Linked DNA regions of Homo sapiens: all the other regions are linked to region 4. The links are contacts of gene promoters, found by promoter capture Hi-C in blood cells and fetal thymus (Javierre and others, 2016). All regions are on one chromosome and are shown on one strand. The core of a region is centred on a gene start or on the middle of the fragment in contact, and the rest is flanking DNA. Distances in the headings are between cores, read along the strand shown.

Region 1 (2,700 bases), core at 26-2,525, 770 kb before region 4:
TATGTAAAGAGAGAAAGAAGGTGTTCTTTTTTAATTGTTTTTAAAAATTGAATGAACTCCTTAAAATCATGACGGAGGAACCCCTTACTCACGGATGACATTTCTCTCTCTGAGGTCAGAACGAGTGAATGGATAGGATACCTTATTTCTACTCAGTCCTAAAAATAACCTCAAGTGTTTAATTGGACTTCTATTAGTTTGTGAACTCAACAAGCATGGCTGAGATCTGCAGCTTTTATATTTATTTATTTATTTATTTATTTTTATTTATTTATTTATTTATTTATTTATTTTTGGTCATTCACAAGTACCAATAAGTAGAAGGGATCCTGCAGCTCATCAGATTCAAACTTCCCACATGACAGATAAATCTTGCTGAGGGGTCTCCAGAGTTAATGCCTGAGTGGGGCTCAGCTCCCAAGAATAATAATTACAATAATAACAAACACTTATTAAGTCCTTACGATGTGTCAGACACTGTGCTAAGCATTTGCCATACTCTCATTATCTTTTTTTTTTCCAACTATGAGATGGACTCCATTATGAGAAGCCTCACCTCTAGATGAGGAAAATGAGACTTAGAGAGGGCGATGACGTGTTATCCACATCACCAAGGAATAATGGGTGTGGAGCCAGGATTCCACCAGAGTCTGCAATTTTCTCCTCCCGGCTGAACTGTCCCCCGTGTCAATTCTGAGTTGGCAACTTCTCTCTGTGCTTCAACTAGAAGATAAAATATTTACTAACAGGCCGGGTGTGGTAGCTCACACTTGTAATCCCAGTACTTAGGGAGGCGGAGGCGGGTGGATCACCTGATGTCAGGAGTTTGAGACCAGCCTGGCCAACATGGTCTGGTCATCTCTACCGAAAATACAAAAAATTAGCCAGGCGTGGTGGCAGACACCTGTAATCCCAGCTACTCAGGAGGCTGAGGCAGGAGAATTGCTTGAACCCTGGAGGCGGAGATTGCAGTGAGCTGAGATCGCGCCATCGTACTCCAGCCTGGGCAATAGAGCGAGATTCCGTCTCAAAAAAAAAAAAATGTACTAACAAAATAGTTTCTGGCTCTGCAAGTTTTCTTACACATTAGCTAAAACCCAGGTAAGGACCCAGAGGAGACATGTCTGAAAGTACTGACCATTCAAGGTGTTCTTGCCGTGCACGTCCAGAATATGAAAATATTCTGCCAAAGCCTTCACGTTTCTCACGGATAATAAGCAGTATATTTTGTCCAGATAGAGGTACCACAGAAACGATCCTTGCTTCAGTCTCATCTTAGTACTGTGTCAACTGAAGGCTCTGGCAACCAGAAATAGAATACAGAACCCTGCCTCAGAAGTAGAATGTTGGATATAGTGTCTGAGATCTGGCAGCAGTGAAGGTAAACACGTCAGAGGAAACAGTCAAAAATTAAAATTGCTGCTTCTTAATTTTTCCAGCTATGCTATAGATAGATATCTGCTGTCCGAAACCTCTTGGTAACGTGATTATCCTTATGTCACTAAAATACAATCAGTTCTAAAGGAGATCCACAGGCTGTTCAGAAATGAATGAGAGAATGTGCTACATAGGAAAACTGCTACACAGCCCAAGTGGTTTTCAGAGCATTTATAGCCTAAATCATTTATTAGAAAGAAGAAAAATTGAAAAACACATGGAAAAGTACTAAAAGAGCCTAGAATAACTACAGTATAATAATGCCAAAGAGAGGAAGTTTTTCTTTTTTCTTTTCTTTTTTTTAATTGAGACAAGAGTCTTGCCTTGTCACCCAGGCTGGAGTGCAGTGGCGCGAGCTCTGCTCACTGCAAGCTCCGCCTCCCGGGTTCACGCCATTCTCCTGCCTCAGCCTCCTGAGTATCTGGGACTACAGGCGACAGGCGCCCACCAACACGCCCGGCTAATTTTGTGTATTTTTAGTAAAGACGGGGTTTCACCACGTTAGCCAGGATGGTCTTCATCTCCTGACCTTGTGATCCGCCCGTCTTGGCCTCCCAAAGTGCTGGGATTACAGGTCTGAACCATTGAGCCCTGCCTCTTTTTTTTCTTTTTTTGAGACAGAGTTTCACTCTTATCATCCAGGCTGGACTATAATGGCACAGTCTTGACTCACGGCAACCTCTGTCTTCTGGATTCAAGCGAATCTCCTGCCTCAGCCTCCCGAGTATCTGGAATTACAGGCATGCACCCCCACGCCCAGCTAAATTTTTGTTTTTATTTTTTATTTTTTATTTTATTTTATTTTTATTATTATTATTTTTTGAGATGGAGTCTCGCTCTGTCTCCCAGGCTGGAGTGCAGTGGCGCGATCTCGGCTCACTGCAAGCTCCACCTCCCAGGTTCACACCATTCTCCTGCCTCAGCCTCCCCAGCAGCTGGGACTACAGGCACACTCCGCCACTCCCGGCTAATTTTTGTATTTTTAGTAGACACGGGTTTCACCGTGTTAGCCAAGATGGTCTTCATCTCCTGACCTTGTGATCCGCCTGCCTCGGCCTCCCAAAGTGCTGAGATTACAGGCGTGAGCCACTGCACCCAGCCCAATTTTTGTATTTTTAGTAGAGATGAGGTTTAACCATGTTGGCCAGGGTGGTCTTGATGCCTGCCCTCAAGTGATCCACCCGCCTTGGCCTCACAAAGTGCTGGGAGTACGGGTATGAGCCACTGTGCCCTGACATTAATTTTTTTTTTCTTTTTTCTTTT
Region 2 (2,700 bases), core at 163-2,662, 580 kb before region 4:
CTGGGTTAAAAATATTTTTTACATTGGTTTCAAGATAATACGATTGATGGAGGAAAAGGGGTTAAACTGATGGTGTTTTGAAAGCCTAAAGCATGAAATATTTTTAGATTTTTATGAGTCAGCTTCAGTACTCAAATATTTGTGATTGTGCTGCTTGTACCAGTTTGGCACTTAATGCTTAACAAGATAACTTTCATTTGCTGTTCCAAAGTGTGCTGTATTAAAAAGAGGAAACAGACTTCTTGGTTATCTCCATTTTCTAATCTTCATCCCTGTACTTTCCTTAATATTGATTCTTCTGTTTTTCCTTGCATTTTTGATAAGTATATTAGGAAATAAAGCTGGTGATAGCAGAATAGTTAAATTTCTAAAATATAACCCCCACTTTGACTCCTACCGCTGCCTGAGGCCTGGGTCCACCCAGGTTGCTTCTCCTCCTGACCCACTCTATAGGATTCAGCTTTGAATATTAGTAAAGTCTATAAGCTCTTAATTTAGACCCTGAATTTACAGTTACTAATGGTAAATAATTTAACCGCCAGATGACTTTTAGGGCCTTATATTGGCCCAGGGCTATACCTGTTAGTGGGCCTATTTTTCCAAACTTCTGAGTTTGGTAAAATTCGCCTTATGAATGAGGCAGAAAACTAGTAATTCATTTTGGAAATATGTAAAGTTTATCCGGCTATGTTCAATGGACTTCATTGGGAAGAATGAGAACTGTACAATATGTATCACGTGGTATTTATTAACCTTTGAGTTAGGAATATGACTTGATTTTCAGGCACTCATCACTAGAAAGCACTCACAAGAGCTTCTGATTGGAAGAGAAAGATGATTAGATTACCCTGTAAGAAGCCAGCAGAAATTGATGCTATCACTTTAGGAAAGGCGATCCTGCCTCCTCCACGGGTGTGAGTGAATCCCCTCTTCCCTTTACACAATTAATGGATGGTTTATAATTAATTGTTAAATGACTTCCCTTTTTGCTAAGTGACCTTAAGTGAGTCATTTCCCTTCTGTCTTATCTCTTAAGTGGCTGTATTACTTGTTCAATGAAGTAATGTAGGTTAAAATACACTGATCCTTATTAAGAAGGTGTGGGCAGGTGCGGTGGCTCTAGCCTGTAATCCCAGCACTTTAGGAGGTGGGAGGATTGCTTGAGCCCAGGAGTTAGAGACCAGCCTAGGCAACATAACAAAACCCTGTCTCTACAAAAAATAAAAAAATTAGCCAGGCATAGTGGTTCACTCCTATAGTCCCTGCTACTCAGGAGCCTGAGGTGGGGAGGATTGCTTGAGCCCAGGAGTTTGAGGTTGCAGTGACCTGTGATTGTGCCACTGCACTCCAGCCTGGGTAACAGAGCAAGACACTCTCAAAAAAAAAAAAAAAAAAAAAGAAAAGAAAAAAGAAAGAAACGAATAAATGAAGTTACTGGAAATGTTGTCTTTTTTTCTTTTTGGATCTTTTTTTTTTCTTCCTGTCATTGACTTTCTCGGGGTGAGTGGGGTTGTTTAGTGACTTCATCAAGAAATTGGATATTACTTTGTCACCACCTTTCTCCTCATGTAGCACACCACTAGGGGTGCTAACTTACTGAATGCAGACTCAGTGGACACAGGTTTCAATAGGGTCCAAATGAATAAACCACACACACACACACACACACACACACACACATTTATATAAAATATATGGACCTCACTGACCTGCCTAAAGAGGCATTGGCTCAAATATATCAATTTTTGCCCCTGATTTTGCAGTAGGTTAGATATCCTTTCAGATTTGACATGGATAAACATGTTCCTGCACACAAGTCTTGGCATTCTGGGCTCTTGACTGCTATAGTCTGTCTCCTGCAAATAGGGAGCTAGCCCAGGAGAATCACTCAGCCATTACATAGATTCACAACAGCACATATATGCCTCTTACTAGTGTTGTTTGAGCCTGTGAATTCTAGAAACAAAATTATCTGCCCTGTAAGATCTGTGGGATCCTGGGTTCTACCTTGTGATATTTGTTCTTCATAGAAAACAAAGCATTTTAAGTCCTAGTGATTCCAATTCCAGTCTTCCTTTGTATTCCATTCTCCCTTATGGCTTTTCTGCCTACTTTCCTTGCTTACTGTATATTCTAGCACATGGAGGACCATGGTCCTCCAGATTCTGCTCACACGTTTCCTTTGTCAGCACTGATAGGAATGGACCTAAGCCCATTTATTGAAGGCTACTGATATTTATCAAAAGGATCTAATAGGTGGTTCTCTGGCCAAATTGGCTTAGGTTATATCTCAGCAATCTTCTCTTTCATTTATGCTAATGAAGTCCTATCCACCCATAAAACACAATAGGTGCCACCTCTTTTGATGTCAGTTTATATTATGGTAGCAGAGACTGTCTGGTTTTTGTGTCTGTATAGCACTGCCTATATGACACTCAAATGAAATGAATGAATTCTGGCACTTTGTATTTATCCTGTAGCACTTAACATATTTCAGGCTTGTAATATAGTTACCTGTTTGTGTCCTCTGTTGAATGATAAACTCCTCATGGGAAGGGCTGGGACCTTAATTATCTTCCAGTGACACACAGTTCCTTCATACACACGGTGTCTTCTTTGTGGTAGGCTTTCAGGAAATGTTGGGTTGAATTTTCCTGGTGATCATTTTCAGACATTATTGCCTTTTGCCTGTGTCTTAAC
Region 3 (2,700 bases), core at 113-2,612, 610 kb before region 4:
CCTTGGGACATGGTGCCCTGTGTCCCAAGCTGCTTTGGCTTCAGTTGTGGCTAAAAGGGGCCAATGTACAGCTCAGGCCATTACTTCAGAGGGTTCAAGTTCCAGTCCTTGGTGGCTTACATGTGGTGTTGGCCCATGGGTGCATAGAAGTCAGGAATTGAGGTTTGGAAACCTCTGCCTAGATTTCAAAGGATTTATGGAAATGCCTGGATGTCCAGGCAGAAGTTTACTACAGGGGTAGAGCCCTCATGGAGAACCTCTGCTGGGGCATTGCAGAAGGGAAATGTGGAGTCAGAGTCCCCAAACAGAATCTCCACTGGGGCACTGCTAGTGGAGCTGTGAGAAGAGGGCCACCGTCCTCCAGACCCCAGAATGGTAGATCCACTGACAGCTTGCACCATGTGCCTGGAAAAGCTGCAGACACTCAATGCCAGCTCATGAAAGCAGCCAGGAGGGGGGCTGTACCCTGCAAAGCCACAGGGGCAGAGCTGCCCAAGGCTGTGGGAGCCCACCTCTTGCATCAGCATGACTTGGATGTGAGACATGGAGTTAAAGGAGATGATCTTGGAACTTTAAGATTTAATGACTGCCCAATTGGATTTTAGACTCGTATGGGGCCTGTAGCCCCTTTGTTTTGGCCAATTTCTCCCATTTGGAATGGATGTATTTACCCAATGCCTATATCCCCTGTACCAACTTTCTTTCCATTTTATAGGCTCATAGGTGGAAGGGCTTGACTTGTCTCAGATGAGACTTTGGACTTGGACTTTTCAGTTAATGCTGGAATGAGATAAGATTTTGGAGGACTGTTGAAAAGGCATGACTGTGTTTGGAAATGTGAGGACGTGAGATTTGGGAGGGACCGGGGTGGAATGATATGGTTTGGCTGTGTCTCCACCCAAATCTCATCTTGAATTGTGGTTCCCATAATCCCCACGTGTTGTGGGAGGGACCTGGTGGGAGGTAATTGAATCATGGGGGTGATTACTCTCATGCTGTTCTCATGATAGTGAGTTCTCATGAGATCCAGTGGTTTTATAAGGGGCTTTGCTCCCTTTGCTTGGCACTTCTACTTCCTGCTGCCATGTGAAGGAGGATGTGTTTGCTTCCACTTCTGCCATGATTGTAAGTTTCTTAAGGCTTCCCCAGCCCTGCAGAACTGTGAGTCAATTAAACCTCTTTCCTTTAGAACTTACCCAGTCTTGGGCAGTTCTTTAGAGCAGTGTGAGAATGGACTCATTCTCACACTTGGTACCCAAATGTATAATCAGGTTGTATATACCTAGCATCTAGGAGAACTTTGCATTAGTTCCATAACCCTATGGAATAAAGACTATTGTAGTAAGAAAGGCCAAGTGAAAGCCCCTGAATTACTCTTCCCTACCCCACTCCATTATCCATAAATCTGGCTAAGATAGTAAATCACAAACAACACTGTCTCTTGGGTAGAATGGTATGCTAAACCTAAAAGACTGAAAGGAAGCGAGGGTGGTAGTACTCATTATATTCCATTTTAATCTCCCACTCTAGACCCTGCAAAATCAGCTAGATCATGGCAGATGACAGTAAACTACATTGCAAACTTAACTAAGTGGTAGCCACACTGTAATTGCTGTGCTGGGTATGCTATCTATACAGGTTGGTTATTGCTTATCCAAAATGCCAGGGAATAGAAGTGTTTTGTAGTTTTTATTATTTGGGGTTTTGGAATATTTGCATTATGCTTACCATTTGAGCATCACAAATCCAAAAATCCAAAATCTGAATTGCACCAATGAGCATTCCCTTTGAGTGTTATAGCAGTGCAGTTTCAGATTTTGGAGTGTTTTGAATTTTATATTTTTCAATTTGTAATGTTCAACCTGTACTAGAATGAAGCAAATAACCTCTCTTACACATTATGTGTCTATTGATCTAATAAATGTGCACCTTACAATATCCACCAGAAAGGAAGGTCAGAAACAGTTTGCATTTACCTGGGATGGACAACAGTATACATTTACATCTTGCTTCAGGACTGTCCTGTTAACTCTCCTGTTCTCTGTCAAAATATAGTTCAAATAAGACTTGATTTCCTGGACCCTCAATGTAACATTACATTGGTTCACTATATTGATACATTACATTAACTGGACCTGCTGCACAAGAGGTGGCAATTACTGCAGATGTCCCAATAAGATTATGTGCTCCAGAGGTAGGGAGATAAAAACCTTGCTATATCAGTGTAGGTTTTTTAAATTTTGTTTTGTTCTGTTTTTTTTTTTTTTTTTTTTTTTTTTTTTTTTTTTTTTGAGACAGAGTCTTGCTGTGTCACTGAGGCTGGAGTGCAATGGAGCAGTCTTGGCTCACTACAACCTCTGCCTCTCAGGCTCAAGTGATCCTCCCATCTTGGCCTCCTGAGTAGCTGGGATTACAGGCATGCACCACACACCTGGCTAATTTTTGTATTTTTAGTAGAGACAGGGTTTTGCGATGTTGGCCAGGCTGGTCTTGAACTCCTGGCCTCAAGTGATCCACCCGCCTCAGCCTCTCAAAATGTGGGAACCACCATGCCCAGCTGACCAGTGTAGTTTTGAAGTGCCTAACAGTTGGGTGTGGTTGCTCACGCCAGCACTTTGGGAGGCTGAGGTAGGAGGATCGCTTGAGCTCAGGACTTCAAGACCAGCCTAGGCAACATGGGGGGACCCCCATCTATTAAAA
Region 4 (2,700 bases), core at 132-2,631:
GCGGAGCGCGGCCCATCCGGGAGCGGCCTCGCGGGCAGCGGCCACTCGGCCTAGGCGCCCTCGAGCTTCCCCTCGTCCCGGGCATGTGTGTGTGTCTGTGTGTGTGTCTCAGTGCTGCAAGCGCCTTCAAAACCACAGAGTAATTTACAACTGAAGCTTTCTCCCTGGACTCGAAATCCACTCGGCTGAAAGTCTTTTTGTTTGGAAGCGGCGATGTTAAGGGAAGGTTGGCAGAGAAAATCCCTAGGTCCTACCCCTCGCTGGCTGCGGGCAGGGGTCTTAGAGCTGGGTATATTGTTGCGGCTGAGCCCGCCGGCTCTGCGGGATCTCCTCCCAGCCGAGGCCGACAGTGGCCGCGACAGCCAGCGCCTCCTCGGGCCCCGCGGCAGAGCCCCTTGCCCTTGGCCGGTTCCCCGCCGGCGCAGGGCGCACGCGGAGCCGCCCTTCCGCGCCCTGGGAACAGGTGCACTGGGCTCAGCGCCCAGGAGGGGTGGGGCACAGGGAGGGGGCGCGGCCGGGGAAGGGGGGTCGGCGTGTACCGCGAGGCAGGGGCGGGAGGAGGTCAAAGTCAGGAGCCCACGTACCTGTACCTGGAAGCACAGCAGCAGGAAGTGTAAACACCTGCGGGAAACAGATGGAGAAGCGGTCAGTGGGACCTGAGGAAGGGGGCGCACGGACAGACAGACACGCAGTCGAAGAGTCAGGTGAACCGACGGGCGGGCAGACAGAGGTACAGGGCACAGGCATACGGACAGACAGCCAGGCAAGGTGGGCAGCCCCGCGCGCGGGCGCTTACAGGCAAGTGCAGGCGGAGGGCGCTGAATACATCGCTGGGCGGGAGGGAGGCGGCGGCTCCTAGCCCAGCCTGCACATGTCCGCTCCGCGCGGCCGGGACCGGGCGCCTCCGCCGCCGCCGCCGCCGCCGCCGCCGCTGCTGCTGCTCCCTCCTCGCCGGCTGCTGCTGCTGCAGACTCTGCTGCTCCGGGGCGCTCCGCGGCGCGCCCTGCGGCATCAGCGCCCCGCGCGGCTCCTCCCGAGCGCTGCGCCCTCCGGGCTGGCGCAGGGGCTGCGGGGCGGCAGCCGCTGTGCAGGAGGCGCCTGGCCGGTGCGGGGAAGCTCGCTCACTGCTGGCCGGCCGGCCGTCCGGGCGTCCGTGGGAGGCTGGCTGCCCGGCTCAGTCCGGGGACAGCATGCGCGGCGGGTCTGGAAGCCGAGTTGCGCTCTCCGGCCCGGGCGCGGAGCTGCGTGGGGCCAGGGGTCAGCGCTCCGGGGTCGGGGCGCGCGGCTGCAGCGCGAAAGCGTCACGGCCGCTCCGTCTGGGCGCCCGCCGGCTCATGTCTCCTCCTCCGCGTCTCTCCGGCCGTGCGCATCGCCGCCTCCCACCACTGGCGGCGGCCGGGGCGTTTTCTACGCGCGGGCGGCGAGGGGGCGGGGGGCCGGGGGCGGGCCCGGGCCCGAGCCGGCACAATGAGGATGCGGGGCCTGGGGGCTCCCCCCTCGGGGCGCGGCCGGACGGGCGCTCAGCTCGCCTGGGTGCGCCCAGCCCACATCAAAGGCGGCCCTGCCTGCTCGCCTGCCTGCCGCGGCCTCTCGCTGCCTCCTCCTCCTTCTCCTGGCGGCTCGGGGTTGGAGGGGAGGCGCTCAGACTCTCGGAGACGGGACCGGCAGCTCCAAAGGGGCAGGACCCGCGAGACTGAAGCTGGTGAGCGCTGGAAGCCGTCGGAGCTCTGCGCCCGAGCGCAGTGACCGCTCCTCCGCGCAAACGTTGCCCAAATTGGGCAGGCGATGCTCCCCAAGAACGCAGTTAGGTACGGAACGTCCTCACCTGCCCACATTCGCTACTCGCACTCACTCACCAGCGCTCTAGTGGAGAGCCGAGAGGGGCGGGTCAAACCCAGCCCCGGGGCGGCTCCACTGAATGGGGGTCGCTTTTACCCGCCCTGCGATCGTGGAGTTTCCCAGCCACCCTCTTGACTGGCTACCCACTTAAGTGAGCCCCCGTCCTCTTCTTACGTCCCTGCCGCTGCGAAGGGGGCTCCCGGGCATCTCTCCTTCCCACCCCTCGCCCCCTCCGGGGCTCTGGGGTCGGTTCACGGGATCCCAGCTGGACTCTCCCGTAGGCGAGCCAGCTTTGGAAACACACGGCTACCACCAAGCGGCCCCGAGACGTCACTGCAACCCCAGCACGGACGGCTGCACGCCGGGGAGCAGCCAGCAGGACTCTGGTCAGCGACCACGCTGAGGCCCTCTTCCGGCCTCCTCCCAAAACCGGACTAAGACTTGCCTCCGTTTGCATACTAGGCAGCTTCGTTCCTTTAACCAGGGCCCCATTCAGGACACTGGTTCTTACCGCCTCTGCCCCTTCCAGAGGCATAACTCCTGTCCTTCCCACCAACCCCAAAACGTAGGTGTTCTTGTCACGTACCTGCCTCACTGTCTAGAGCTGGTGTCAGCCAAGCTCTGCTTGAGCCTGATGCTAAGGAAAATAGGTCACAGTGAGAAAGACGCTGGAGGACAGGCTCAAGCAAAACTCAGGAATCTGGACTATTTGGTTAAAGCCTCCTTGCGTTGGCAATGGTTGATGGTCCACTGGAGCATAAACTGAGGTAGGACTGTCGAACAGTGCTATTTGCTGAAGCCATGACTATAAAACATTAGTAATTGTTCCAAATATCAGGCCTCCTTGCAAGCTATTTTAAG
Region 5 (2,700 bases), core at 171-2,670, 660 kb before region 4:
ACCTATTCTTTAATATCTTGCTTTTTTTTACCTAGAGATTACTCCATATCTGTTCATAAATATTATTATTATTATTATTATTATTATTTTGAGACAGAATTTTGCCCTTGTTGCCCAGGCGGGAGTGCAGTGGCGCTATCTCGGCTCACTGCAACCTCCGCCTCCCGGATTCAAGCGATTCTCTTGCCTCAGCCTCTTAAGTAGCTGGGATTACAGGCATGCACCACCACACCCAGCTAATTTTGTATTTTTAGTAGAGATGGGGTTCTCCATGTTGGTCAGGCTGGTCTTGAACCCCCGACCTCAGGTGATCCACCCTCCTCGGCCTCCCAAAGTGCTGGGATTACAGGTATGAGCCACTGTGCCCAGCTGAATTATTATTTTTAATATGTTTCCTTATGTAATTAAACATTTTCTAAAACTTGATTTTTTTAAGGTTGTATAGAATTCCATCATATCAATATACTTTATTTACATAGACCTATATTGATGGACATTTGCTTCCAATTTTTTACTAAATAACATTCATTTTAAATGACTGATTATTCTTTTTTTTTTTTTTTTTCTTTTTTTTGTGTTGTTGAGACGGAGTTTCGCTCTTGTAGTCCAGGCTGGAGTGCAATGGCGTCATCTCGGCCCACTGGAACCTCCACCTCCCAGGTTCAAGCGATTCTCCTGCCTCAGCCTCCTGAGTAGCTGGGAGTACAGGCGTGTGCCACCATGTCCAGCTAATTTTTGTATTTTTAGTAGAGATGGGGTTTTGCCATGTTGGCCAGGCTGGTCTCAAACTCCTGACCTCAGGTGATTCTTCTGCTTTGGCCTCCCAAAGTGCTGGAATTACAGGTGTGAGCCACCACACCCAGCTGAATATTCTTATTCAGTGGTTTTGTGCATCTATAAATATTTCTTTAAAATCAGTATCCAGAAGTGGAAACTACTATGTCAAAAAACATAAGCTTATTACCAAATTGTCCTCCAGAAATGTACCAGTTTCTACCATCAAATTTTCTACATCATGAAAATGTAGTTTCTACATCAAATTTTCTGCATTATGTTTTCTACATCAAGAAATTATAGTTTCTTTTTCATTTGTATTTTATATCTATATAGGTGATTCTAAAATTTCTTTTTATCTTTTGCTTCATGTCTGTTCATGTTCTTTGCCACTTTTTTTGGTTAGGATAATCTTCCTTTTTATTGATTTGTAAGCACTCTTTATTTATTAAGATTATTAAGGTTTTGTCTGTCAATAAATATCAAATGAAGCCTGAGTTCTAGTCATGCCTGTGCCCCAGACTTGTGTGATTTTGCTCCATGATCCAACCTTCAGTGTTCCAAGTTGCAAATATTGTGATCTCTGAAGCCAGTTTCTTACTGTGAAATATCTGTATCCTTTAACCTTTCAGGCGCCAGGAACTCCGAGAGCTTCGGCTGCTCCAGAAAGAAGAGCATCGGAACCAGACCCAGCTGAGTAACAAGCATGAGCTGCAGCTGGAGCAAATGCATAAACGTTTTGAACAGGAAATCAACGTGAGTGCGAGAAAAGATGGGACCCTGCAGGGCTTCTTGCCTCCAGGTGTTCTCTCAGTGGAAGCTACATAGTGGGAATGATTGGGTAGTGGAGAGTAATTCACAACAATTGCCCAATTCCTGGGGGCTTCCCGATCTTGTTAGGCAGTGACTTGTTAACACAGAACCCCGTGAAGGTCACAGCGATCCTGAGTCCCACAGGAGGATCTCCAGAGGGGAAATAACCTGTATTGAGCACCGTGCAACAACACATGGTCTGGTCTCCCTTTTGCAGATGAGGAAATGGAGACTCAGGCTAAGTAACTTGCCCCAGGTCACACAGCAACGGGGTAGTAGAGCTGGGATTCAAGCTTAGGTCTGATCACAAGCTCTGAGTTCTCCCCATTCCACTTCCCATGTCCCTCCCAGGTATAAAGTGACTTCGCTAAGTTTCTCAGAATTTCTGCTCCTTTCAGGCCAAGAAGAAGTTCTTTGACACGGAATTAGAGAACCTGGAGCGTCAGCAAAAGCAGCAAGTGGAGAAGATGGAGCAAGACCATGCCGTGCGCCGCCGGGAGGAGGCCAGGCGGATCCGCCTGGAGCAGGATCGGGACTACACCAGGTTCCAAGAGCAGCTCAAACTGATGAAGAAAGAGGTGAGTATGTGCTCAGTGGGGGCAGGGGCATCTCGGAGTATTAGGGGCCTTCTTGGTTGCAAGTGATCGTGGCCTCAACCTCACCTTGGCAGCAGAGGGGTACGGCTGAAGAGCTCGGGAGCAGGTGAGCCTGGATCTGTGTGCCCAAGCTGCGCCATGAGGAGCCACTTCTCCATCTTCTGAACTCTGCTTTCCTCTGTGTTGCTATGGCTCAGGGCAGGCCTCACCCTGTGGCCTCAGGCAGCTTCCTTTACATCCTCCCAGCTTAGCAACCCCTGCCGAGAAAGAGCGGGGAAGAAGGAAGGGCTGGTGGTCCGGGGGAATTTGAGATGCTGTTCCCAGAAGGGCGAGTGGGTGCTGGGTGGGTAGGCACATACAACATGCCCTCTATGCTCCACCCTCTCTGCCTCCTCCTCCTCCCCATGTTGGAAGGGGAAGGGGAGGATGGAAGGAGGTATGTGGTCCTGAGGCACATCTCTCGAGCTGCTCTGGAGAGAGGCATCTGAGTGTCAAAGAACAGCCCATGCCTCCCTCT
Region 6 (2,700 bases), core at 177-2,676, 860 kb before region 4:
ATATTTAAATGCAAATCCCAAGCTGCAGAGCATCTCTTTCTTAGGTATTTCAACTTAAAAAATTTTTTTTCGTGCTAAGCAAAAGCTGACCCAGGATGTTAAAAAAAGAAAGTCTGATATAAAAATGGAGCAGATAGTTAAAACAGCTTCTTAGGCAGAAATAAGCTTTAGAAAGTCCCAAGCAGGATGATAACAATTTTAAGGCATCATAGCACGAAGCACAATTCTAAAGGGACCATTAACAATTTGGCTGAGATTGGAAAAGTAACCGCCAAGAATGTTGGGCGTGGTCAATGTCCCAAATTCTAGATTCGAAAAGGCAGGGTGTTTCACTCATTTACACTTCACTTTGGCCTAAGGACGATTTAAGATACCCAAAGGCAGGATCTTGATAAGTAGTATTGTTTGAATCATTAATCCCGTGAAAATGAAAGAAACCCACGCCCCCTGAACTAAGGTCAGCGTTTATCTCTTCTTTCCAGGCGTTCCATCAGGACGCCTCGCCTCTAATCTCAGTTTGGTTTGCCACAACCACTGCCTCCACCCCTAATAATGGGGCCCCATGATTTTAGGGAAGACGGGGGTGGGCAGGCAAGAGGAAGCCCAGATTCGGGGTACCAACCCACGGAGCGCCATACAAATTCAAAGGGCGCTGGGACCTCAACGTTCGGCCAGGACACTCTCCCCCGAGCCCCCGTTATTTGGGAAACCGCCCCGTCCCCGCCTGCGAGTCTTCCACGACTACTTCTCGGTTCCCCCGTGCGACCCGCTTCCACCAGCAAGAAGGAGCCGACGGCCGAGGAGCCAGGAACTCGATTTCGCCCCTTCCCACTCCTCTTTTCTCACTTTTGTTCGGCTTTTTCCTGCTTTCCCTCCCTTCTTCCCTCTCCTTTCTTCTTCCCGTCCTCCCTCTCTCCTCCTCCCCTCGCCTCCAGTCCTCCCCCCGCCTGCAGTCCTCCCCCCACCTAGCCCCCTGCGTCCCCTCCCCCGCCTCACCCTCGCCCCGCTCCGCTCGCAGCCCCGCCCGCAGCCAATCAGAGCGCGGCCTCCGGTGGCCCCGCCCTTCTCCGGCGATTCCGGGCGGGCCGGGCCGAGCCCAGGCCGTGGGTGCGGAGGGCGGCGCCGCGGGCCGGGGGCCGATGGGTCCTGGCGGACGCGAGGCGCCGGCGCGGGGCTCGCCTGGACTCGGGTGTGCGGGGCTGTGAGGGGGCGAGGCGGGCGCTGCGGCCCGCCCGGGATGGGCCAGCCCTGGCCTGGCGGGGCTGAGCCGAAGGCGAGGGCGGCGCGCGGGCCAGGCCTGCCGGGCGGGCGGCCCGGGGGTTGAGGTAGAAGTGGGCGCGGAGGAAGGGGCCGAGCCAAGGCGGTGGGTGGAGCGGCGAGGGGGGCGGAGGCTGGGCCGCGGCGGGCGAGCGGAGCGGCGCGCCTGTCCGGAGCTCGGCGGTGGCGCCGGAGGAGGCTGCAGCGGCGGCGGCGGCGGGCCCGGACGAGCGTCCGGAGGTGGCGGACGAGGCGCCGGGGGCCCCCATGGGCGGGTGTGTGGGCGCCCAGCACGACTCCTCGGGCAGCCTCAACGAGAACTCGGAGGGCACCGGAGGTAGGTGAGCGCCAGGGGGCAGCCTCGGCCCCCCATTGTTCCCGGCCAGGCCCGGCCACCTGTCCCGACCCCCGCGGGCCGCGCCGGGCCCCCGCGCCCCTTTGTCATCCCCTCTTCCACGTCATTCCCCGCGCTCCGCTTCCGGCTGTCCTGCCAGCCGCGGGGGTCGCCCCTTCCCGCCCCAGCCCTGAAGAAAAGTCCTCTGAGCGCCGGGGACGTAGCCCTTGGCCTCGCCGACCGCCCCGCTCGGCTCGGGGAAGTCGGACCCGAAGCTGCCCTTCTGGCCACCTCACTCCCTCTCCAGGCCGTTTAATTATTGAGGATCAGGATGGCGGCGCCGGGGTTGCAGAAAAGCGAATTGATGGCGGGGGGAGGGAGCTTGATGCGTTCCCTCCGACGGGCCCCGCCACATCTTTCCGCACCCTTCCTTGTTCTGTGGAGTTGGCTGGTCTCAGCTTTCCTGAGTTTCAGATGACAGCTGCCCCGGTTGGTTCCAGATTGGCCATTTAAACCTGCGAGTTTCTGGAGCTCGGCTGGAGGAGTCTCCAGTGGCCGCAGGCATTGTATTAAGGAGGGGTGGGGAAACGGTCTTCCCGGGTAAAACGTGGCTCCTAGCTAGAGCTTGGGGGTGTTAGGCCGGTGTGCTGTCGGGGTGGGCTAATCACATTCCCATCTGTCTTACGTAGAAGGAAAATATGTAGGATAAAAGTACAAGTGCAGTTGGACCCTGACTTACCCCACCCAGTAAGATCAGTACTTTAAAAGTTTTCTAACACGGGAACGCACTCCTACTTTATAGTAAAAGCGTGCTGAGGATAGGTATTTTAATTCAATCAGTAGTAGTTGTAGTATGGCAGTATAATAATAAAATTAGTTCTATCTTTATTTAAGTGACCTTTGGTTACGTCCATTCTGTAGAATATTTTAGTGATAAACAGCCTTTAGGCAAAGATGACAGCGTTGGTTTGATTTGTGACCTAATGTTAGCTGCCTTAAAATGTGCATGTCTGTAAATTTTTAAATTGTTTGGGTATGGGAGGGTTTACAACTTTTTCGTAGCATACTAACATTTAGACCAGTTGCTTGCCCTGTCACTTAAGCTCTCT
Region 7 (2,700 bases), core at 73-2,572, 880 kb before region 4:
GAGGGCAGATCACTTCAGGTCAGGAATTTGAGACCAGCCTGAGAGTGTGATGTTCCCCTTCCTGTGTCCATGTGTTCTCATTGTTCAATTCCCATCTATGAGTGAGAACATGCGGTGTTTGGTTTTTTGTCCCTGCGATAGTTTACTGAGAATGATGATTTCCAATTTCATCCATGTCCCTACAAAGGACATGAACTCATCATTTTTTTATGGCTGCATAGTATTCCATGGTGTTTATGTGCCACATTTTCTTAATCCAGTCTATCATTGTTGGACATTTGGGTTGGTTCCAAGTCTTTGCTACTGTGAATAGTGCCACAATAAACATACGTGTGCATGTGTCTTTATAGCAGCATGATTTATAGTCCTTTGGGTATATACCCAGTAATGGGATGGCTGGGTCAAATAGTATTTCTAGTTCTAGATCCCTGAGGAATCACCACACTGACTTCCACAATGGTTGAACTAGTTTACAGTCCCACCAACAGTGTAAAAGTGTTCCTATTTCTCCATATCCTCTCCAGCACCTGTTGTTTCCTGACTTTTTAATGATTGCCATTCTAACTGGTGTGAGATGGTATCTTATTGTGGTTTTGATTTGCATTTCTCTGATGGCCAGTGATGATGAGCATTTTTTCATGTGTCTTTTGGCTGCATAAAAGAGAGTAATTTTTTCCTGAAGTAGAATGGTTAGTTGTTCCAAATGAGAAGAGAAAAAGTATAGGAGCAAAACCTGAATGGATAAGAAGGTTGTAGGTGTGTGGAAGATGAATCTTGTGATATAAATTTTATGTGTGATGTAGGGAATTATTTAGAATGTTTTTCCTAAAAAACTGAGCATTAATAGCAAAACTAGAATTTGGCCTTCTCTGTTAAAACAACAAGGTTTTCTTAGAGTATTGGCCTCTGATCTTAACAGAAAATTGTTAACAATTTTTCTTTACCTTTTAGGTAATTGGCCTAGGGGAAAAAAAGATTCTGTGTCTTACCAAGAAATTTTCCTGTGCTTCAATTTTTTTTTTTTAAGAGACAGGGTCTCACTCTGTTGCCCAGGGTGGAGTACAGTGGCATATCATAGCTCATTGCAGCCTTGAACTCCTGGGCTCAAGCCATCCCCATGCCTCAGCTTCCCAAGTAGTTAGAACTACAGGTGCTCACTGCCACACCTGGCTACTTTTTTATTTTGTAAAGATGGGTCTCACTATGCTCGCCAGGCTTGTCTTGAACTCCTGGCCTCAACTGATCCTCCCACTTCAGCTTCCCAGGCTGTTGAGATTACAGGCATGAGTCACTGCAACCAGCCTTGTGTTGTCTTTATTGGGTTTTCGGTCACTTAAGAAAACTGAGAGATCAGAAAGTTGACTAAATACAGAAAGTTACATGGTTGTCAAAAAAAACCTTAGCTCCAAGCTAAGTGTATAAATGTTTTATACACTTGAGCTGAGGTTTTTTTTTTTTTTTTTACAGCTATGTAACTTTCTGTATTTGCCTTTGAAGCCTTTTAATTGTCACTTTGGTTAAATGAATGACTATTGTTCACAGTGACCTGTGAACCTATTTTGATCAAATGTTTTAAATCTTTGATATGTTTGACAAACTCCCCCAAAATCAAAATCTAAATGAAGTCTTTTTCTTGACCTTGAATTAACTTTGAATTTTTCCAGGTGGGCCTTTGGAATATCTCAGAATGATACCTTTCCTTATAAAAAGAGAGATATCACATGAATTGAGCCTATTAAATATATTAAATTATATGGGAAGCATTGCCAAATGATAAGTAATAGTAAACCTTCTTTGAATTATATTTGTATGGACGTGTTATTAATGTGTGTTTTAGAAATTATATGATATTTATAGAAATCAAATAGTCCTGGTAGAATGTTATCATTCATAATTTTAGTTATTATTTTAAAATGTTGCATGCAAGAGAAATAATCAAATTTTGTTGTGAATTGTATTAACATTGTAATTAACTTTAATCAGATCTTTAACCATTCACAAATGGTTAATCTTTGTAACTCACAAATGATTGTTTACTCTGGTACTTTCCTGAATTAAAGAAATAAGATTGGTGTTTAAGAGGGTATAAATCCAATGTGAAGCCTGGACCCACGAAGAGGCTGGATGGCTGCCTGGTAATTCCTGAGTCCTTAAATCTTCCATCATTAGGCCAGGCATGGTGGCTCACGCCTGTAATTCCAGCACTTTGGGAGGCTGAGACAGGCAGATTGCTGGAGTCCAGGAGCTCAAGACCAGCCTGGGCAACATGGAAAAACCCTATCTCTACAAAAAATACCAAAAAAAAAAAAAAAAAAAATTAGCTGGATCTGGTGGTACATGCCTGTAGTCCTAGCTACTTGGTGCTGAGGTGGGAGGATCACTTGAACCCAGGAGGTTGAAGCTGCAGTGAGCTGAGATCATGCCACTGTACTCCAGCCTGAGTGACAGAGTGAGACCCTATCTCAAAAAGTTTCCTGTTTTTGTTTTTTTTTTTTTGAGACGGAGTTTCACTCTTGTTGCCCAGGCTGGAGTGCAAGGGTGCAATCTCAGCTTGCTGCAACCTCTGCCTCCTGGGTTCAAGAGATTCTCCTGCCTCAGCCTCCCAAGTAGCTGGGATTACGGTGCCTGCCACCTGTAATTTTTGTATTTTTAGTAGAAACGGGGTTTCACCACGTTGGTCAGGCTGGTCTCGAACTCCTG

What was found. Contacts are between HindIII fragments. The CHiCAGO score rates a contact against its expected background, and 5 or more counts as called.
Region 1: a contact is called between the fragment with the promoter of EFCAB9 here and the fragment with the promoter of FGF18 in region 4, in 14 of 17 cell types (M1 macrophages, erythroblasts, M2 macrophages and 11 more). The highest score is 11.0, in M1 macrophages.
Region 2: a contact is called between a fragment that was not itself captured here and the fragment with the promoter of FGF18 in region 4, in 1 of 17 cell types (megakaryocytes). The highest score is 5.5, in megakaryocytes.
Region 3: a fragment that was not itself captured here is called in contact with the fragment with the promoter of FGF18 in region 4 in 6 of 17 cell types (M0 macrophages, M2 macrophages, endothelial precursors and 3 more); the score reaches 9.9 in M0 macrophages.
Region 5: a fragment that was not itself captured here is called in contact with the fragment with the promoter of FGF18 in region 4 in 3 of 17 cell types (M0 macrophages, M2 macrophages and M1 macrophages); the score reaches 6.6 in M0 macrophages.
Region 6: the fragment with the promoter of UBTD2 here is called in contact with the fragment with the promoter of FGF18 in region 4 in 13 of 17 cell types (total CD8 T cells, total B cells, naive CD4 T cells and 10 more); the score reaches 11.2 in total CD8 T cells.
Region 7: a contact is called between a fragment that was not itself captured here and the fragment with the promoter of FGF18 in region 4, in 8 of 17 cell types (naive CD8 T cells, total CD8 T cells, M2 macrophages and 5 more). The highest score is 8.3, in naive CD8 T cells.

What each region holds. Positions count from the first base shown.
Region 1 is chr5:172,192,747-172,195,446 of GRCh38, reverse strand. EFCAB9 (EF-hand calcium binding domain 9) reads right to left here and starts at 1,275. Exons shown (of 4, transcript NM_001171183.2): 1 at 1,139-1,275. The coding sequence starts at 1,274. The HindIII fragment of the contact is 7,932 bases long and covers 1-2,700 here.
Region 2 is chr5:172,001,395-172,004,094 of GRCh38, reverse strand. The region is part of intron 1 of FBXW11 (F-box and WD repeat domain containing 11); the gene reads left to right. Among named protein-coding and RNA genes, the nearest start is that of FBXW11, 3.9 kb to the left of the region's middle. The HindIII fragment of the contact is 5,721 bases long and covers 1-2,700 here.
Region 3 is chr5:172,029,344-172,032,043 of GRCh38, reverse strand. No RefSeq gene overlaps it. Among named protein-coding and RNA genes, the nearest start is that of FBXW11, 24 kb to the right of the region's middle. The HindIII fragment of the contact is 3,212 bases long and covers 1-2,700 here.
Region 4 is chr5:171,418,328-171,421,027 of GRCh38, reverse strand. FGF18 (fibroblast growth factor 18) reads right to left here and starts at 1,381. Exons shown (of 5, transcript NM_003862.3): 1 at 797-1,381; 2 at 585-621. The coding sequence starts at 828. RefSeq lists silencers at 875-954, 1,015-1,064, 1,205-1,314, 1,435-1,544. The HindIII fragment of the contact is 2,658 bases long and covers 159-2,700 here.
Region 5 is chr5:172,081,791-172,084,490 of GRCh38, reverse strand. It overlaps STK10 (serine/threonine kinase 10), which reads left to right. Exons shown (of 19, transcript NM_005990.4): 11 at 1,407-1,530; 12 at 1,986-2,165. Among named protein-coding and RNA genes, the nearest start is that of FBXW11, 77 kb to the right of the region's middle. The HindIII fragment of the contact is 924 bases long and covers 959-1,882 here.
Region 6 is chr5:172,282,490-172,285,189 of GRCh38, reverse strand. It overlaps UBTD2 (ubiquitin domain containing 2), which reads left to right and starts at 1,426. Exons shown (of 3, transcript NM_152277.3): 1 at 1,426-1,594. The coding sequence starts at 1,525. RefSeq lists enhancers at 149-748, 749-1,349 and a silencer at 924-1,833. The HindIII fragment of the contact is 4,236 bases long and covers 168-2,700 here.
Region 7 is chr5:172,298,814-172,301,513 of GRCh38, reverse strand. No RefSeq gene overlaps it. Among named protein-coding and RNA genes, the nearest start is that of UBTD2, 16 kb to the right of the region's middle. The HindIII fragment of the contact is 3,437 bases long and covers 1-2,700 here.